Linked DNA regions of Homo sapiens: regions 1 and 3 are each linked to region 2. The links are contacts of gene promoters, found by promoter capture Hi-C in human tissues and cell types (Jung and others, 2019). All regions are on one chromosome and are shown on one strand. Each heading gives the region's core, a stretch centred on a gene start or on the middle of the fragment in contact. The rest is flanking DNA. Distances are from core to core; before and after follow the strand shown. Region 1 has its middle 100 kb from the start of LINC01376. Region 2 holds the start of OSR1 (odd-skipped related transcription factor 1). Region 3 overlaps LINC01808 (long intergenic non-protein coding RNA 1808).

Region 1 (3,616 bases), core at 409-2,908, 230 kb before region 2:
AATTCATTTCCTTGGCTGGTGATCTTCACTCAGCAATCGAAACCCTCTGACCTTTCTTTCTGCAGTTACTTCTCCTTCTCTGACTCTCATTCACCTGCCTCCCTCTTCCACTTATGAGGACTCTTGTGATTACATTGGACCCCCCAGATAATCCAGGGTTATCTCCCCATCTCGAGATCCTTAACTTAATTGCACCTGCAAATTCTCTTTGGCTATATTCACAGACTCTGGGGATTAGGACATGCACAACTTTGTAGAGGAGGTGAAGGGATTATTCTGAATACCACACTTTCTATGGCCCTAAATTGTTCCACCTACAAAATGGGTTGGATCTGATGGCCTCCAAAAACCTGTTCAGCTCTGCCAGTGGGTAGAAAAGTGTTACCCAGAGACTAGAGTCTGGCAGGTCAAGTCTGGAGACAGCAACATGACTCCATGCCAGATGTGTCTTAACAATTCAAGTGGCCTTTGATTTCCGGTCTTTGGTACAAGACAGCAAACCCCAGGATATGCCCAGCCATGCATACTTACGCCCATGATTCTGTAGCCTTCTCACTGGTAGAGACTCCGGGAAGTTGCCTTCTCCGCATCTGGAGCAAAAAGAAGTCCAAAGAAGATTCTCTTCCTTCATTACCTTGAAAGCCCTGTTCTAAAATCCCCCAGGTCTCTAGAATGAAAAAAAAAAAAAAAACTTTTTAAATATCCCAATCGAATTCATTTTTAACTGCTCCCCCACCAAATTCACTTAAGATTTCATCAAAACCCTATTCAAATCGTTACAGTAAATGTGATAGTAAATTAAAAGCTTGTAGCACAAAATTAAGCCAAGTCAACAACCATTTTCACTGAAAAGATGGCTAATTCCCATTGGTAAAGGGGGAGAATTAAATGAGTAGTGGAAAATAACATTGCCTGATTAGGAAAAAATAAAAATAAAACCTAAAATGAGAGTCTGGGACTTTGAGCTCAAGTTTTAATTTGGCCCCTATATTATAAGGTCACTGTGAATAAGCCCCTCTCTTTTTGTGTTCTTGGTTTTTCTTCTCCTGTTAAAGAGAGAGAGAGTGAAAGAGAGAGAGAGAGAGAAAGGAATTAAGTTGAGGCCCTTTAGGCTTAGCATTCCAAAACTAGGAGGAGGGAGGGGAGAATATTTCTCTTAAGAGTGATTTAGGAATAGGTTTTTCTTTCTGAGTCTGCAAGTCAGAAGAAAACAAGTGATGTGAACTCCCCAGCAAACTTCCGAGAAGTACTGTCTCCATTCGCACAGGTCTAAGATGCTATCAGTACAGAACTTTCCACCTTTGCTAACATTCCTTATCTTCTGTCATCTGCACAGTGACTGTGAAAAATGTTCTCAGTGGGTGTTTCTGATTCATTTTCGTGATGGTACCATGATGTCTGAAGAAGTTAAAGTTTAAACTCTTTCCCTTCCCATTGGTCTTTACAACTCTGTGGATCCTGCCAGTAACTGGGCCAATTCCTAAAGCCTGAGGTTTCCCAGAAAGGCAGATCTGAGCAGGGCAAGTGCTGTATTGCTAAGGAGAAAAGTCATTGGTTTTTAAATGGTGCTCTTAAAATGGTGCTCTTATAAGGCGGCAACAATGCTACCCAGCCTGTCGATGTCTCCATATCCAGCTGGTGTTATGAAGATCTCTATCTAGGAATAAACTTCCTCAAAGATAAAACAACAGGCTTGAGCTTTGGAGACAATAGTAATATTGTCTTGAGCATTTGAGACACTACTCCGAAAGGCACTTAGAGAACACAGTGTATTCTTCTCGTTAATTCCAATACAATTTATGTATTGTTCAGGAACTAGCCCTGAGCAAAGTTAGAGAAGAGTCAGTATTCGGGGTCCTTGAAAACATTAAAGTCAACCTGCAATCCTCAGGGGCTAAAGAGAATTTTTTTTAGTGTGACATATTTTATAACGTTGTGACTGCCACACAGGCAGGGATTCAGGGTGCTTCCCAACTTTCAGTCTCAGCTTCAAACACACCTGAAGTATATGCAGGTGTGCATGTGTGTAGCATGTGTGTGCACGAGTGCTGGCCTCTTTATAAGTTTGCATGTGTTTGTGTTGGCGTGTGTCTGTGTACAAAGTGTGCCTGGCTGTGAGCCTGGCTTTGTGGTGGGCAGGGTAGGGACTTGTTTTGAGTGCAGAGGAAGTGAATGTCAGAAACGGAGCATACTGGGATACTAGGATACACATGCCTGCACAGGTGTGAGTGTGTAGAGAGATGCATGCACATCAGCTGTGTCGAGTGTGTTTTCATGTATGGAGAAATGGGGTTTTATGGATACGTATGACTGTAGAGAGGCCTACAGAATTACCAGTCTTTATGCTCAACAGAAGACAATGCTGGTCCAACCCAAACCCCATCTGCTCTCAGGCTCCCTCATTTATTGCAGAGTTTTTTCTGAACACTTACTAAGTGTGAAGTCTTTTGTTAGATACTGGAAAAGAGTACAGAAATAGGAGATAAGATTTATACTCTTAAAGAGGTCACCACACAGTTTGAAAGACCAGATACACACACTTGGACAGTAGATCATCCCCCAACAGAAAACAGCCTGGTCAAGGCAACATTGTCTGAACAAAGCTGCCCAGATACCTGTTACCTTATTTCAGGATATCTCAACAAAACTTATAGCAGCAACAAAAGGAATATTTTCACCATGCTGAGAGAATTCTCTGATATCAAATTGTTCAGTTAATATAGACTCTGTCATGTAAGACAAACTGTAAATAACATATTTACCAGTTATATGTATGAGATGAACTTTGGATTTATCCTAATTAAGGAACTGAAAAGAATGTTGTAAAGATTAAATAAATTCTAATGATGATGATAACCATGTTGACAATGATAGTTCAGTAAGATTAGTCTAGATATTTATTACATCTTCAAATGTGCTGGGCATTGGATTAAGTGAGTGCAAAGATTTGCATGATGAGTTTGGATGGTGTCTGTGTAAATAGAACACTCTGAAAAGAAATGCGAAGAAGTCTATAAGGAGACAGAGAGGAGTGCTGGCAGAGAAAGAGGCAGGTGTGAGGACCTGGCTCACTTCCCACAGGACCTGTGCTTCCCAGGGAGCCCTCCAGTGACCCCGTGCTTTGCCAAGTGCCCCAGCACAGTGCTGTTAATTGAGTAAGGCTGAAAAGGAGGCCACTCCTGGGAGACTGCTTTTGTATGAGTGGTGGTCATCCTTGCGGCTAAGGTGGTTATTCAACCCCTAGTCCATTCTACTCCCAGCTCACTGCTTTAGCAAAACCTGGCCTGAAACACAAACCCCCCTATGTCTTATAAATAACTTCATATGGTGTCACTTTCAAAGTCAGCACAGATTTTAAGTTTGCCACAGCATTTCCATGAGTATCTACACTAATAACCAATCTCCTCAAATTGGTAGTTCTCTGAGGTTACCCAAAACTTTCATATTCACAGTTTAATTCATCTGAACAATCAACCTTTGAGGTAGGAAGAATTAGGCAACCCAAGATTATTCTAGGGCAGATCAACCCATGTGAAAAGAGTAAAATTAATATTTATTCATTAAACATCTACACATTGGAAGACACCTGTTGCTTTAAACTGGCCGATAACCAACA
Region 2 (4,100 bases), core at 771-3,270:
CGGAACCCCAGGGCGAATACTTTCGATCTTTAAACACAGGATGGAAAACCCTTCCCCAGGCTAGGCACCCATTCCTCAAACAGCTTGGGCCTCAGGACCTGCGGGAAAGAATAAGGGGACCCGACCACGCACAGCAGACGCAATTCGCGCTCGGGATCCCGAGTCCCTGCGCAGTGCGGGCACTCGCGTCCCTCGCGCGGTGGAGCGCCAATCCCAGGTCTGCGGCCAGTCCTATGCTGGGCATTAATGAAGTGTGCAGAGTCTATTAAAGTGGTTTATTCGGGGCTAATTGAGCGTGAGCAAGTTAACTGCTTGCATTAATGAGAACGGGAGCGAACTCCACGAGTTTGCGCCTGGGGGAGCCCAGCAGCAACCCAAGAAAATCAGCCTTGACATCGAATCTCCAACGAGTGGTGACAGGCGTCCGGACCCCCGTGAAGAGGACTGACCGGCACCGGATACTTCTATAGCATTCTCCCAACAAACGAGATCTAACGAACCCATTGGCAAGGCGGTCATCCGGCTGCACTTAAATGTCCGCTGCGTCCTCGGTGATCCATTCCCCAATCTTAATAAAACAGCAATTACCTCGAGGAGCCTGGGATGGAACATCTACACGCCGCCGGTCGCTGCTAGTCCCCTCCAGCGCTTCTCTTCCCTAGGGGGTTGTGAACCTGGGACACCTAGCCTTGCACGTGGTTTTGTTCCGCAGAGCCAATGCGCAGCTCTTAGCCTGGGTGAAATTTACCAAATTGTGGCAACAAAGAAACCCTTGCGGCTACTTTACACATTGAGAACCCAACCCGCTACTGCCTGAGCTGCTGAAAAAGGACTAAACGTGGTTTTTCATTCTTCTCCGAGACATTTCCGAGGAGAAATTAGTTCAGCAGGCAGCCCTTCACCCCTTTCCCCCTTCTTTCTCTCCTGACGGCTGGATTAGCGGACAGTCAGGGGAGTAACAGAACTTTTCCTGTCCCCAGCCCGGAGACCCTAGGGCTCCACAGAGTTTCCACTAGTGCTGTGTGTGGGTCTCGAATTGGAAAGCAGTGCTTGCGCCCACTGCATTGCCTCCCTGCACCAGGACAATCAAGGGTTCCGCTCCAGGCCTTGACGACACAGAGCAATCATCCTATGGAGAATATCCCTAAGTTAGAGCGCGAGTGCAAGGCGGGGTTCAGACTCGCAGCCCTGCGCTCTCGGGTCTAGGCGGCCTCATACTAGAGCGCAACTCCTCAAAAGACAAACTTGAACGAAAGCGCTACCGAGCTGGGGCATGCACCTGTCCCTGGCGCGGTCGGCTGCGGCTGTGGCCATTCACTCCCTCTCCCTTCCTTCTTCGTCAACCTGGGCGTCAGCCAGAGCTAGGAGCGCGTCTCAGGAAAGTTTGTGCCCGCTGAAGTTGCTCTGGTTTCTTAAAGGGGGCCCACAGATTGACTTTCAAAGTCCGTGGGCACCTCGCCCGTGATTCCGCAGAGCCGGGCGGGCTGGCCGCAGTAGCGGAGGCCCGCCCCCCTTAATCCCCAGCGGTCAGAGGCCGAGGACCCCGCGCAGGAAGTCCTGAGGCAGCACCCCCAACCACCCTGCTCTCACTTTCACAAAAGTCCTACAGCATTCGTTTGGCAAGAGCTTCCTTCAGGGGCATTGAGAGAGAGGAGGCACCCGCCGAGCAGTGACAAGGAACCTGGGAGTCCTGCCCGCATTCGCTTTGCTGAGCCCAGGCGCCCAGGACTGCAATTACCTTGTTCCGCAGAGGTCCTGGGGCTGAGCACGTCTCTGGGGCTTTAGCTGAAGGGGACTGGGGAAGCCGGAGGCCCTGGAGCCCACAGGCGCCCCTGGAGCTCTAGTGTCCCGACTCCTCTCCTGCCGCGGGGACTCCAAGCGCCGGACACGCGGGAGCGAGCGCTCAGCAGCCCCGGATCCTGCACGCCGGGGACGGTGAGCCTCGCTCGCGGCTCCCTCGCTGGGTCTGAACCAGGAGCAGCTGAGAACGTGCCGGGGAGAGGCCGAGCTCCGACTCACTCATCCCTTAGCACCGAGCCGCCTACTTATTTTAATCCACCACCCTCCCTCCTCCACCACCCCCACCCCCGCCCCTTGCCTCAGGATTCCTCCCCTCCCTCCCCTGCCCCCCAACCCTGCCCTGCGCCTGCGCAATGAAAGACAAAGTTTTTGCTGACCCGGGCAGCAGACTTTGGCAGCTGCTCTCGCTTGGACCCGGCCTCTCCCAACCTGCGTCCCCTCCTCTTCAGTCCCGCGCGACCCCTGCTGCCTTTTTAGGTCCAGAGCGGCACGCCTGGCGCACTGGAGGAAACGGTCCCTAGCAGATGAGAGCGGGCTGGCACCGCACGTTTCGAGGTCCTATACTTGGGCTCCTAGGACACAGCCCGTGCTCTTTGGGAGGAGGGAGGGAGGGGCAGTAGCTCTGTGCACCGGGATCCCCACACCGCGGCTTGGGTTTCAACGCACTTTGGCGCCTGACAGAGTCGCATCTCCTCCCAGAATCTCTTTCCAGAGGCGGCAGACCCCGAGTGTGGAGCAGCTCCTGGCTATCCAAGCGTGCTCGGGGCCAGGGTGTTAACCCAGGCAGCGCTGGTTAATTCCTGGTGCGGGAGGGCCAGGGTCACCGAAGCAAGCGAGCTGTAACATCTGAGTGCTTATGGTTGACCCCAGACCCTAAGTTCTGGAGTCCAGTAGAAAGAACAAAGAGTAGGGAAAGGAGGTCAGGAAAGTTATTTTCCTGGGGCCCAGAACTCTCTGAGATTTCACCCCAATGCACAGTGGCACTCTCTACTTACATATTTGTTTTAGGATGGATCAGAGTTTAGAGAGCCGCACTGGCAAGCTAGACGAGCTGCAAAGTTGTCAGTTCCAGGGCCTCTGAGTCAAGGAGCTGGTTCAGGTGGAGTTTTTAATCGGAAAGGAATCAGAGTTCTGGACATTAAAAATTCTATCTTCATTGCCTAGGCATTATGGAGGGTACCATCACCCCCTTGACTACCCATCTCTGAAAGCTGACCTCCGGCTGACCCCAGCCCAATCCCTCCCTAATGCCTTTCTGGAATACCCTTCCAGGCCTTGGGTTTGGCAAGGAGGAGTCACTGGTTTCCTGGGACTTGTGTGGGTCCAGATCACACAACTGCACTCTCTGCCTTTGCCCCAGAGTTGCTGCTGAGTGACTCTTGGAGCTGGATCCTAGATTCCGTGGGTCCCTAAGTACTGTACTGCTTCTCTCCCGAGGAGCTTCTGCTATCTCCAGCTTTGGTTTGCAAAGCTAATCTGATTTTCTTGGGAGGTGAAGAAGGTTGTAATACCTGACCTAGGGAGATGGTAATGAAGACTCCCCTCCCTCAAAGGCATAGTTGAAAGAGGATTTCCTTATATCCCCAGGCCTTTAGAACAGAATCTAGCCTCTAACCCCTGGGTAACTTCGTCTTGTTTGAGGAGGAGTAAGAGGGGGTGCAATCTTTGCTCCAACGAACAGCTTTTACCCAGTGCCTCAGGTTAGTGCAGAAGTAAGAGATTCACATAAGTTTGTCCATGCTCCTGGAATCTTAGCAGTTGCTAGGATGTAGTGACATTCTTGCTAGAGTAAGAACCCTTGGAAGAGAAGAGAGCTGAGATCACACCTCCTTCCTAGAGATTCCAGAACAGAAAGCTTCAAGGGCAAGGAAAGGCCTGGAGGGAAAGTCTACACAGGGCAATGCTGAACTTTGCTGGCTTCCACCTTGGGCACAGGGAGTGTGCTTGTTCCAGCCTCAGGCTCTCCAAATAAGCAAAGCTTGGGTAACCTCCATTACCAGCAGCAAAAGTTAAGAAGTAAAAAAAATGCCCACACGATAGGGCCTCTGGCTGTCCAGATCACTTAGGAATAGTGGCTGGTCATTCAGGTGGGATGGAACCTCCTGGGGTGTAAATACCCAAACTCCTGCTATGCACCCCTCATAACTCAGCTGGGCTTCTTTTATGTTTCTCCTTGTCTTTCTTTTCTAAAACAGGGCCCTTGGCCAATATGCCTCAGAACTTCCAGAAAGCCCTAAGTAGTAGGATCCCTAAAGAGCTCTCGGAGAGAAAGTGTTCCTGATCTTAAAGAAGAAACATGC
Region 3 (3,755 bases), core at 692-3,191, 140 kb after region 2:
GTAGCTCTAATGGAGAGTGAAAGTCCATGAACTAATACATAAAGCCATGTGTTCTGGGATGAATGACAGAGAAGTAAAAGTTAAGAGAATTCTAATTTACACACTCCCCCAACATGCCGTGTGACCTATTCAAGTCCTTTAACCTATCTGGATTTTGGTTTCCTGATCTATGAATGTGGCACTAAGGATTATCCTACTCACATGTAAATTACTGTGAAAATTAAGAAAATTGATGCAAAAATATCTTGCAATATTTAAGCACATTAAGAGTGTGATATTACAGGAACCTCCTGAACCATGTTTCCTTCCGTTCTTCCCCTGGCTCAGCCTTCTCATCCTTTAAAATGCCACTCAAGTATCATCTCCTATTGCCAAAAAGTCTTCTCTGAAGCTTCTGTTCTCACACATAGCACATCACTCAATAAATATCTGGTCATATATCTGCCTTTGCCATCAGAACACAAGCTTTGCAAGATGAAGAACCTAGTCTTATATCTTATCCATTGGTTTTCGTTTGGGGTCACCAAAGGTTTTTTGAGCACCTACTCAACACTCATAGGTCTCAAAGGCTGAAAATTAAATGCCTAAAACTCAGTCCCTGATGTTAAAGAATTTATGGTTAATTGGGTAGAGCAAAAGCAGAAGACAATCACAGCATAATGTTGCAAATCCAGACCTGAATGGGGCACCTTGGGAGTAGAATGGACCCAACTCTGCCTGTATTGCAGGCTGTAAGACATTCTTCTCCAGGACCTGGGGAAGGCATGCTCTAACTTTCACTCATTCACTTTCAACGGGGTTTCTAAAAGATATCAGCATCAGACCTAATCTCGTCCTTCAGAAGGAAGTTTTCTATCACCACCCACCAAGTACAAGTGATGTCCTCCAGGTATTTCCCACAAATTCCGGTGACCAAATAACTTTGGCACTGTTGACCACACACCCAGGTGGTGCTACATATATAGGCCTCGTAACAGCAGCTAATGAATCATTCCCTTTGGTTACATAAAAAGCAAAGCCAAAGTCGCCTCTGGCACCCACTTTGAGTTAGCTCAAGAGCAGCCCCATGTTAAAGTCTTAGCTACTTCAGCTGGTGTTTCTTTGCAAATTCACATTTAGAAATAATAGTCTTCCCTTAATTCTGCAGAATGATTTACATTTTACAAAATGCCTTCACATCCATCATCCTATCTGATTCTAACAACCACTCACTGCAATGAATACACCAGGAGTTATTTTATGGATGAGGAAACTGAGACTAGGTAACTCAGACTAAAGCCCAAGTCTCCTGATTCCTATTCTAGTCATCTCAAACTGCACAACACTGCAGCACAATTGCAGAGGAGACACTCAGTGCTTCTATTACCCCTATTTTTCATGAGTTAGTCAAGTCAGCCAATGTTACCTTAGACCGGATCATCATCGAAGCACAGAGCTGGGTGAGGAAGGGAAGAGCAGAGCTGCCCTGACTCTCAGAAACACTTGGCTGGTAAGAGAAACAAAATAAGTGTGCAATCAACTACACGAAAAAATCAAGTGAAGTGTGTGACATGAAAACACCTGATTTGGGGTCCCAACCGTTCTATAGTTCAGTTCTGTGTCTGGATTTACAAGACCTGTTGTGGTTTAGTGACTCATAGCTGATGGGGCCTTAAACCTCTTATAATCCCCTTATGTTATTAATACAAATGCAGAAGCAAAGCCAATAAGGAAAATGACTTTCCCATTGCCCCAAAACTAGTTAATGGCAAATGTAAGATTAGAACACAAAACGCAGAACCTCACCACTCCCCAAAAGACCATTATCAAAGATTGTTTTACAACCCTGGGATGTTTGCATCCTGGCTTGTGTTTCCCTATATATAGTGTGAAGGACGTTGAAAGAAGAGTAACAGGACCCAAACCTCTTAATAAATGGATATTTCAATGTATTCTCAATATTTAGCTACTCAGTGGAATTATTTTCTGATTCATCTATGTTGTCTTATGTTTCAGTGATTCCTTCTTTATTGCTGAGAATTATTCCATTAATAGATATAACACAATTTGCTTATCCATTAACCTAGTTATGGACATTTGGTTGTTTCTAGTTTTTGAATTTTGTAAATTATTCAATTATATTTCCTTCGTTAGCTTATTAGCTATAACTTTTTTGTCTTTTTCATTTCAGTGGTTGCTTGAGGGTTCAAAGCATACATATTAACTTATTACACTCTACCTTCAAGAGATATTATACCATTTCATGTATAGTAAGAGGACTTTATAATAGTTTACTTCCATTTCTTCCTTCTTGGCCTTTGTGCTATTGTCATACATTTTACTTTTATACCTATTATAAACATCACACTATGTTGTTATTATTTTTAAGCAGTCAAGAATTATTTAAAGAGATTTAGATAATAGGAAAAAATCTTATGTGGTTACCATTTTATGGGCTATTCATTCTTTTGTGTAGACTTCCCTTTCTATCTAGTACCATTTATCTTAGGTCTGAAGAATTTTGTCAAATGTGTCTTGTAGTGCAGGTCCACTGTGATTAAGTGTTTCAGGTTTTGCATATTTGAAAAAGTCTTTTTTTGGGGGGGTTATTTTTTAAAGATATTTTTACTAGATATATAAGTCTAGGTTAACAGGTAGTTTGGGGTTTTGTTTTGGTTTGTCTTTATGTTGTTCCACTGTCTTCTAGCTGATGAAGACAAGTTTCTGATAAAAAATCTGTCTAGTCTTTCTTCCTATGTGTCTTCTGGCTGCTTTTAAGATTTTTTTTCTTAATCACTGCTTTTGAACTATGCTATTATAATATTTCTCAAGCTTGGGGTTTATTGAAATCTTAAATAAATGGCTTTAGAGTTTCTATTACATTTGGGAAGTATTCAGCCATGATTGCTTCAAATACTTCTGTCTCCTTTCTACTTCATAGCTCCAATTACACAGATGCTCACTTCTTTGGAGTTTTCCTACAACTCACTGATACTTCATTTTACTTTTAGCCTTTTTTTTCTATTTAATTTTGGATCATTTCTGTTGTTATGTCTTCATGTTCACTATCTAGTCTTCTGTAACATCTAATCTGCAGTTAGCTTAATACAGTGTATTTTTGCCATAGCCATTATAATTTTAACTTCTGAAAGGCTGATTTGGATCTTCATTTTATAATTTGCATGCCTATTGAGTATAGATGCAGTTATAATAATTTATTTTATGTCTTTTGCTGGTAATTCTAAGGTCTGTGTCAGTCTGGGTCCATTTCAATTGATTTATGTTTCTCCTCGTTATGAGTTCTATTTTCCTAGTTTGTTGTTGTTGTTGTTGCATGCCTGGTACATTTTCATTAGATGCCACACAGTGCATTTTGCTTCGTTAGGTGATGGATATTATCATATTTCTATAAACATTCTTGATTATTGTTCTGAAACAAAATTAGTTTATTTGTCGGCCTCATGATTCTTTCAGACCTTGCTTTTGAGACTCATTAGGTGGGACGAGAGCTGGATCTAGCTTCAGGCTATTAATTCCCACAACTGAGACAAGAATTTTTTGAGAGTTCTAGTCAATCCCCTGTGAGTTAAGAGGTTTTTCCAGTTTTGCTGAGGGGGAACAGACTCAGTACTCTGCTGCATATTCAAGAAGGACCCTCTGCAAATCTCTGCATTATCTCTTCATCAGGTTCTCCCTTCTTTGGTATTCTACTCTGTGAACTCTAGCAGCCTTGGCATCTCAGCTCTGTCTCTTCAACTCAGGGAGACCAATGGGTA

Evidence for each region. The method cuts DNA at HindIII sites, captures the fragments that hold promoters and counts their contacts. A contact is called where the count stands out against the background at its distance.
Region 1: a contact is called between a fragment that was not itself captured here and the fragment with the promoter of OSR1 in region 2, in 4 of the 25 tissues and cell types used here (H1 embryonic stem cells, IMR-90 fibroblasts, aorta and 1 more).
Region 3: a contact is called between a fragment that was not itself captured here and the fragment with the promoter of OSR1 in region 2, in 1 of the 25 tissues and cell types used here (aorta).

The regions. Positions count from the first base shown.
Region 1 is chr2:19,124,721-19,128,336 of GRCh38, forward strand. No RefSeq gene overlaps it. Among named protein-coding and RNA genes, the nearest start is that of LINC01376, 100 kb to the left of the region's middle. The HindIII fragment of the contact is 7,121 bases long and covers 1-3,616 here.
Region 2 is chr2:19,356,603-19,360,702 of GRCh38, forward strand. OSR1 (odd-skipped related transcription factor 1) reads right to left here and starts at 2,021. Exons shown (of 3, transcript NM_145260.3): 1 at 1,739-2,021. RefSeq lists enhancers at 1-699, 1,365-1,893. The HindIII fragment of the contact is 12,145 bases long and covers 1-4,100 here.
Region 3 is chr2:19,495,883-19,499,637 of GRCh38, forward strand. The region is part of intron 5 of LINC01808 (long intergenic non-protein coding RNA 1808); the gene reads left to right. Among named protein-coding and RNA genes, the nearest start is that of LINC01808, 29 kb to the left of the region's middle. The HindIII fragment of the contact is 4,827 bases long and covers 1-3,755 here.